Regions from separate parts of the Homo sapiens genome. Here region 2 is linked to region 1. The links are contacts of gene promoters, found by promoter capture Hi-C in human tissues and cell types (Jung and others, 2019). All regions are on one chromosome and are shown on one strand. The core of a region is centred on a gene start or on the middle of the fragment in contact, and the rest is flanking DNA. Distances in the headings are between cores, read along the strand shown. Region 1 holds the start of PTPRD (protein tyrosine phosphatase receptor type D). Region 2 overlaps PTPRD (protein tyrosine phosphatase receptor type D).

The links. Contacts are between HindIII fragments. The study calls those that stand out against the background at their distance.
Region 2: a contact is called between a fragment that was not itself captured here and the fragment with the promoter of PTPRD in region 1, in 2 of the 25 tissues and cell types used here (pancreas and small bowel).

The regions. Positions count from the first base shown.
Region 1 is chr9:10,611,624-10,615,590 of GRCh38, forward strand. It overlaps PTPRD (protein tyrosine phosphatase receptor type D), which reads right to left and starts at 1,379. Exons shown (of 46, transcript NM_002839.4): 1 at 1,065-1,379; 2 at 775-882. PTPRD-DT (PTPRD divergent transcript) reads left to right here and starts at 1,583. Exons shown (of 3, transcript NR_110696.1): 1 at 1,583-1,803. RefSeq lists a silencer at 1,324-1,533. The HindIII fragment of the contact is 2,966 bases long and covers 1-2,493 here.
Region 2 is chr9:10,550,061-10,554,252 of GRCh38, forward strand. The region is part of intron 2 of PTPRD (protein tyrosine phosphatase receptor type D); the gene reads right to left. Among named protein-coding and RNA genes, the nearest start is that of PTPRD, 61 kb to the right of the region's middle. The HindIII fragment of the contact is 6,408 bases long and covers 1-4,192 here.

The DNA.
Region 1 (3,967 bases), core at 129-2,628:
TTTTGATGCAGAGATATTCAGCCTTAGGAGACACCTTAAACCTGTCACTGGCTGCTGAGCCCTGTCAGAGTTTATAACCCGCTGTGTCAAAGTCACAGTCTCAGCCCTGCCCTCTCCAAAGTATTTTTCACATTCTCTCTCCAAATTAAGTTCATTCTAATTCTCCAACTATTCTAGTTCCAGGATTTTCCTCCAATTATTATCTCCTTACAGGCATGAAGAAATCGCAACAGAATTTTCATCTGGTCTTTCAAACCATCCTTATTAACTTTCCCTTTTCCGCCCCCCCCCCCTTTTTTTTTCTAGAGCTTTTCAGAACTAAAGATAAAACAACCAACCAACTGAAGTCAGAGTAGGGTGGGAGTTAGCATGGATTAGGGCTGAGGTTGAAGGTGGCAGGAGAAGTGAGCCAGTAGGGTTAGATTTTTCAAGCTTTTTCTAGATAACCACCCTTAAATCTTAGAACCAACCAATGTTTAACAAAGCAGGCTTCCAATAGCCCTTGAACAATAAACGTTTAAAAATCAGTTTTCCAGTAAGGCTGCCCATACTGATCCCATATCGAAGTCTTCTAAGGGCTCTTCCAAAAAAAAAAAAAAAAGAAAAAAATGCTTAGCGAACCACTTCTCAAATAGGAGCTACTGAAGTTATATAAGTCAAGTTATTCCCAGGTAAAATGAATAAACTGTCCACAGCATTGGACATTGGGCATTGAAAAGCATCAGCATATGCTTCACTTTAGAGAAAAGAAAGACAGAAGCACAGTTTACTTACTAAAGCAGCCGCTCCAGTCCTCCTTGGAAACCCTGAGGAGTCTTCTCTTTTCTTTCCTACCAGTCAAATAAAGAATTGTCTTTCTATTCCACACAGGCCCAGAATAAACTGCAAAAAGGGATGGCACATGCACAGCAGCCCGTCAGGGTTTGGCTTTGGTGGGGTGCTTCGATTTCTGATTGTTTCAAAAGTGGGATCTTCTTTTCCGGAGGGAGGGGGCAAAGGAAGAAAAAGAAAGCGCGCTCGGAAAGCCGGCTTGGGTCCTGCTAATTATTCTGAAGGCAAAGTACCTGCACTCTCCCCGCCGAGGCTGGCTGGCGGCGCCGCGCCGGAGGGGAGGAGGCTCGGGAGGAGGAGGAGAAAGAGCAGCGGGAGGACTCGGGCTGGGAGGGGAGCGCAGGGTTGGGGAGGCCGATGAGCGGCTCCCGGCTCCTCGGAGAAGCAGCCGAGACGGCAAGGAGGAGGCGAGGCTCTGTCGGGGCGAGGCGCTGCCCCCACGCGCTCCGGCCGCCGGCTGCGGGCGCGGCTGGGCGGGGAGCCGAGGCGGCCGCTCCCGCACTCGCTCGCTCGCTCGCTGGCGCTCCCTCCTCGTCTCGCTCGCACTCACAGGCACACACCCCACGTCTCCAGCAGCTGCCGCTCGGCCTCACGCACTCACCTGCATTTCCTTAACGAGCCACTTGATGGCTGCCAGCGGCGTGGGCCCCGCTCCGGCGGGCGGGGGCCGGGGCGGGGAGAACGCGGCGCGGGATGCTCCGAGCGCCCGCTGGGGAGAGAAGCGGCGGCGGCGGCGGCGCTGCGGGCGCGCCAGATGGGGCGGGAGGAGGGGAGACCCGGCACCCACCGGCCCAGAGCTGCCTGACGCGGCCTGGGCGGACCCCGCCGCCCGGGTGCCTAGGCACGATTCCAGGGATCCAGGGTAAAGCGGTTCGCGCGGGAACAGGAGGATATGTCAGGCACAGGCTATTCCCCATCACTATAGCCACAGAGGACTGGTCCAGATGCGGATCCCGATCTGTGCTTCTTCAGGTGTTCGCGTGCTTTCGGTTATTATTATTATTATTATTTTCCGAGGGAGGCTGTCGGTAACACCTAAGGGGTAGTGGGTGTTAATAGCTGGGGGACGTACATTTGATTTGCAATGGAATCGATGCTTATGAAGAGCAGACTTAGGGAGGTGAAGGGCAGGGGCACAGGGGTTGCTTGGCGGAGGGGGTGTACTTCGGCTGAGCTGGATGGAGTTTTCAGTCGGGGCGCTTGGCAGTCTGGCTGGGCTTGAGGGAGGGATAGAGCTCTGCCAAGGTGGTAGCTGAGAAGGGAAAACCTGTACAAGAGTTGCTGAGAATATGCCTCGCTGCAGAGGAGAGGACATGGATGCAGGGAGCGGATTCTTCCCCACCTCCTCCTTACCCCAAGGTAGAGTGGGGTATCGGAGTGCATCAGATGTGGTGTACCACAGACTCGGGAGACAGGGGAGGAGGAACTTAGACCCCCAGCGAAACTAGAAATAAGGTTTGGAGCTGGGGGGAGAAGAAGGGGCAGGATGAGAGAAAAACAGCAGGAAGCTTTTTGTCATTTTACTATCTTTCATGTCTCATCAGAGCATACAGCTATAGGCAACAAATGCTCTGTCTCTTGATAAACAGAGAGCAATGTCACCATGTCGGTGCGTTTTCTAAAAAGCCAAAATAATTATCCTGTTTGTAATATGCAACACAGAGCATTCCAGGTACCATCTGGTCAAAGGTTCTGTAAGCACTGTAGAAGAAAACAAATAAAAAAAGAACAACGAAAAACCAGTTATCCATCTACTTTCCTTATATGTCAATGATCTAATCGCAGAAATGTCACTTTCTCCCGAAGAGAAATAAAGCTTAGTCACTATAGGTGGAATTTTCCCCAGGGTCCCTTCACCTTTTTCTTTTCATACCTTCTCCACTGCTTGCTGTGTCCCTTTGCTCTTTAAAAGGGACCCTTCTCCTGAACCCACGCGCTGCCGGGTTCCCTGCTCAGCCTCCCTAAAGCCACGGAGCCTACCCATCCAAGAAGGTTCCCATGCACAAACAGTCATCATCACTTAAAAAGGTTCTTGGAAATGACAAGATATGAACGAAAAAAAATTACACCATATGTGCAAGTGTGTGTGCATGTGTACATATTTTTGTAATTATACAAAGCACTTGCCCCTCTTACGGTGCTGTCTCCCCAAGATGATGATGACTGACTCATATTCTCTCTCTCTCCCTCCCTCCTTCTCCCTTTCTGCACAAATACACACCACTCACTCCTGTCTCAGTTCCTTCCTGTCAGTGTTCAATAATGGTTTTACATGAACTTTCTGTTAGGCAGCCTCTGACTACCAAGGGCGAGTTGGAGTGGATTGGTAGGAGGGAGGCTGGTCTCAATGATGCCGCTCTGTTTCCTGCCATCCCTCAGTCATTACATACACTACTGTACTTAATGCCAAGTAGAAGCAGAAATGATTTCCTCTCTTGCTAGTCACAATAATATATTTGTCCTCCCTCAGAAACACAAGTAATTAATAATAAAAGAAATAATGCATCTTGAAACCATGGGAAGAGCAGATGGAGGCTGATGTGGTTGTGTTAGTCACCTTTTCTGTTGTTGTTGTTGCAAAGACAACGTGACCACCTCTCCCTTTCTACTGCTTCTGGTGGGTTAAGCAAAGCATTTGGCCCTTTTACTGTATTCTCTTTTCCATCTTTCCCTTGACAATAGTTTGTGTGTTTTAAGTAAAGATTTCATTCTGCCAACCCGCAGGAAGCTTTTAACAAGATGCAGCTGAGCGTGTCGATATCTTATATCTTTTTACTGCTGCATGGGGGTGTTCAGCAACTTGAAACTCTTCTCTACTTCAGCTCCAGGCTGGGATCTCACAGAGACAGTGCTCCCTGGGGCTGATTTACTCTTGCTCCTGTACAACTATCCTTTGGTGTCCTCTGGAAAACAAAGAATATTTTAAACAATGGAAGAATCAGTGTTATACTCAATCCCCTTCCTCCTACCTCCTCCCCACATAATAATATCACAAATGTTCAATGGATTAGCTTATTGTAGAGATTTTATTATTAATTACATCTGAGAATTGGATTGAGATATCTTACTTGAAGGTGATTGCACCAAGCTTAAGGAGTTAAGAAAATTTTATTATCTAACTACCTAGCTACACTTC
Region 2 (4,192 bases), core at 1,365-3,864, 60 kb before region 1:
CTAAGTGCATCACAGATGAAAGAAGAGAAAAGTGACTTAAGGGACTGTCTGATTACAAATGCAAATGCAAAGCTGCTCCTGACAATAACCCATTGCTAATCAATTTCCTATAACTTTCACTACAGTTTCCTATTCCAAACATTCTTCACTATCCACAAGTCCCCTTTGCTAAACTATTAACTGACAAAATAAATCAAGTACTTTCTTTTATACATATATAATTTTTTAAATTTAGATTCAGAGGATACATGTACAGGTTTGCTACATGGGTATTTTGCGTGATGCTGAGGTGTAATTTGGATTTCCTTTAAGCAGAGTCTGACATGATGATTTGGGTGAAGTTAGTCTAGGATTTAATTCCAGGAAACAGAAGTGAGGGAGTAGGGAAGGATGAAAGACAATAAAGTGTGCTTCACTGAGCTGGTTGCTGATTTAGGCAAATGGAAATCAATCTTTTTGGAGACCCTCTGAGGAGTCCTGTAGAACCTACCTCAGAATTACCACACTGAAAGACAGGAAGGCTGGTAAAATTAGACTCATTTCACCCATTGGTTGAAAATGGTCCTTGGGTGCACACAAACCCAAAGGCACATACACTTTGGAGCTGAGAGAGTGTGTTTTAGAGAAAGCCTAAGGCAAAAAAGCAGAAATACCCCATGATATGTGCTTCAGGTGGGATGCTGGAAAGATGCAAAGAACTATCTATCTCAGCTTCAGCTCTTCTGAAATTGGTTGGGCAAAAGAAAGGTGCCACCAGTGGCCAGATATAAGCTTTTTCTCCACCTCTACCTCTCTTTCTAAATGTTATTCCACACATCATTACATATATTGGCATGGTTCCCATGGCCTTATTCACTTCGGTATTAACTTTCATTCTCCTATGGCTGTACACTGTACACACATTTCTAAACTTGCCCTTCATAACCAAAACCAGGTCTCCCTTAATAGCATGGAGACTTTGACACAACTCTGTCATTAAAATTACATATTAGGCTGAGTGCAGTGGCTCATGCCTGTAATCGCAGTCCTTTGAAAAGCCAAAGTGGGAGCATCACTTGAGGCCAGAAGTCCAAGACCAGCCTGGGCAACAGAGTGACACCCCCAACTCTGCAAAGAAACCTTAAAAAAAGTAGCCATGTATCATGTCACACACTTGTAGTCCCAGCTACTTGGAAGGCTGAGGCAGGAGGATCCCTCATGTCCAGAGGTTCCAGGTTACAGTGAGCTATGATTATGCCACTGCACTCCAGTTTGGACTACACAGGGAGACCTTGTCACCAAAAATAAAAAATAAAAATAAAAATTACATATTTACCACCGTGATTCATGTTCCTTGTGCTATGGTTTGAATGTCTATGTTCCTCAAAAATATATATGTTGAAATCGTGACCCTGAAGGTGACAGTATTAGGGAGTAGAGACTTTTAAGAGGTGATTATGAAGGTCCTGAAGAAGAAGGCCTCATGAATGGGAATTGTGCCTTTGTAAAACAGGCCCTAAAGAGCTGCCTTGCCCTCTCCACATGCATTAAGTCTATATCTATAAACCAGACATGGAATCTGCCAGTACCTTGATTTTGAAATTTCCTGGCTCTATTATAGAATTATAAGAAATAAACTTCTGTTGTTTACAAGTTACCCAGTCTATGGCATTTTGCTACAGTACCTTGAATGAACTAAGACAACTTGCTTCCCACTATTGCTTCCAGACCATTCATGTTGGGCTTTGGCAGGATCCAAGCTGAGAAAGTACCAGCATATGCCCAGAAAAAAAACTAGTGAAAAATGACTTTACATTATTCAGAATCCTGAGACTTGAAACATGCTGTCTTTCATTTCTACCATGTTTGGTTACTACTTCAAGTACTCCCTTTCTGCACATTCATCCACTCAGTCGAATTTTCTACTTTGCATGCATGTTTTCAACACCTAATGCCAAATCACTTCTCTATGGAGGTGCTTTGGAGTCTTCAAGCAAACATCTCTCCCACAAATTTTCAAAGGATTCATGTTATATCACTTGGCTCAAATGAATGATTGTCTCTTTTTATTAGTACAATTTTGCAGTCATTTCAAGAGGTTCATCCTCCTATTCACACTGTTAATGGAGTTTTGAGGTGGTGGTATCATTTTTTTGTAACTCCAAGTTAGTGTGTGCAGGCCATTCGACACTAATAGAACAGAAAACCAAGCTTTTTTATCTGTATTAAGAATTTAAGGTATCATCATTCCAGTCCAAAAGTTTCTAAATTCTCTAAATATGAATGAGCTATCACACCATGCTTTTGGATACCTATTGCTCCCCAAACTCTTAATTTTGCAATCACAGAGAATTTCTTGAGTGCTGAAACCTTAAACTCCATCATGCTCTTGACCCAAACTTATTATTTCACACTCTTCTCATTCTTCTGTCTTTTTTTTCTACATGATCATGTGTAACAGTGTCTTGACCCTTTTGTTAAGTTTTTCAGTTTTTCCTCCTATCTCCAGCCATCTTAGAATCCCATAATGCATCACATTTATATCCCTACCACTGTGGACGCTAGATCAACCAATTGCTCTTTCCTCTCTCCAACTTCCATTCTGTTGTCAAAAAATAACATATCTGAATGCAAGAGGAGCACTGCAGATTTATGGCAGGAGATTTCTATTTCCTTTCAGTCTTCTAGAGAAAAGAGAAAGAAGTGGCCATTCTGCTCTCCCATGGAAAGAAAAAAAAAACTCACATTGGATAAGCAACAGGATCTTCACATGGCAACAGCACAGGTTGAGGCATTCCTATCTTCTCTGTATGGAAAAAAGGAAACCTATTCTTGTCCTAAATTGGGTCCCATGACTCTCCCAATAGATACAATCCAGTTTCTGGAGATTCACGTTGCTTGATATAGTAGTCTTGATGATGGAGTTTATGATGACTATTTGTCCTAGGGTAGATTTATTTACAGTTCAAAGTGGGACACAAGAATTCAGCTGAGGCAGTCTGTGCCTCCAGTTGACCATTCCCTGAGCCCATCATAGTGATCACTAGCAACATCTCCATGCTGAGAATCACAGAAGCACATCTGGATTTGTTATATTCCTGTCCATCCAGCCTAAGGAGGAGAGAATGTAGTAGGATACAGCACAGTCCCCACCCAGGCAGAAAGCAAAGTAATAATTGCATGTGGAAGATCATTTATGAGCATATCTTAGATCCTAGCAGAAAATGAAAAACACCTAGAAGGCTGAAACTTTTGTGATTATGCTTGAGATGGGTCAAGTCATAGACTCATATGTTAACAATCTTTATTTTTTTTTTTTTTACTTAAAGATGTAATGGTTATACAGGAAAAAAATCCTACACATAAAATAGTTCACAAAAAATAATTAAAATTCTCATCCCTGAGTTGTATTCCAAAAAGAAACAGCTATAACTTGTTTGTTATGTATACCTCCAGAGATTTTTCCAAAATATGCAAGTATGTACATATTCTCTCCAAGGATAGACATTCACCTGTGTACTTTCTTTTTATAACACAAAATCATTTCATATGCAACTGAGTTTCATCTGGCTTTATTTACTTGTCAATATATTTTAGGACTCTTTCTAAAGTGGCATGTATAAATCAAACAAATCCAATTCATTTTAAGAACTGTGAATATATATGTATACACACATATATTCAAAGAGAGAGAGAAGGAGAAAGAACTATGCAGCTAGTTTTCTTATTAATAATGTTTATAGTGTTTTAAAATCTTCCAGTTACACAAATTAGTCAATGAATGTAATTAATATATGTTTTTACTCACTTGTACAGCTATATCTGTTAGATTTATACAGTTTAAATTACTGAGTTAAAGTATGCTAAAAATTTACATTTTGGTAAACTCAGTTTCTGGGAGACTGCTGTTTTTAATTTTTTCTACCAATATTGTTCTTTAATATCCCCTTTATTATATTTTCTTGGATAAGTAGTGTGGGAAACATGTTTGACCTGATTTCCATACAAGAACATCACAAAGTTACATTTCTTAATCTCTTAATCCCATGCAAATGTCCATCCCAAATCTACTGGATTAAGAGCTTTTAATGATGAGACCTTTTAGTGTATAACTCAACCCTTTCTGCATGCCGTTAAACTCTACTGTTCCTTGCCCTTAAATGGAAATATGTTTCCTCACTTAAATTGGCTCTTTTTCAGGATGTTACTTTTT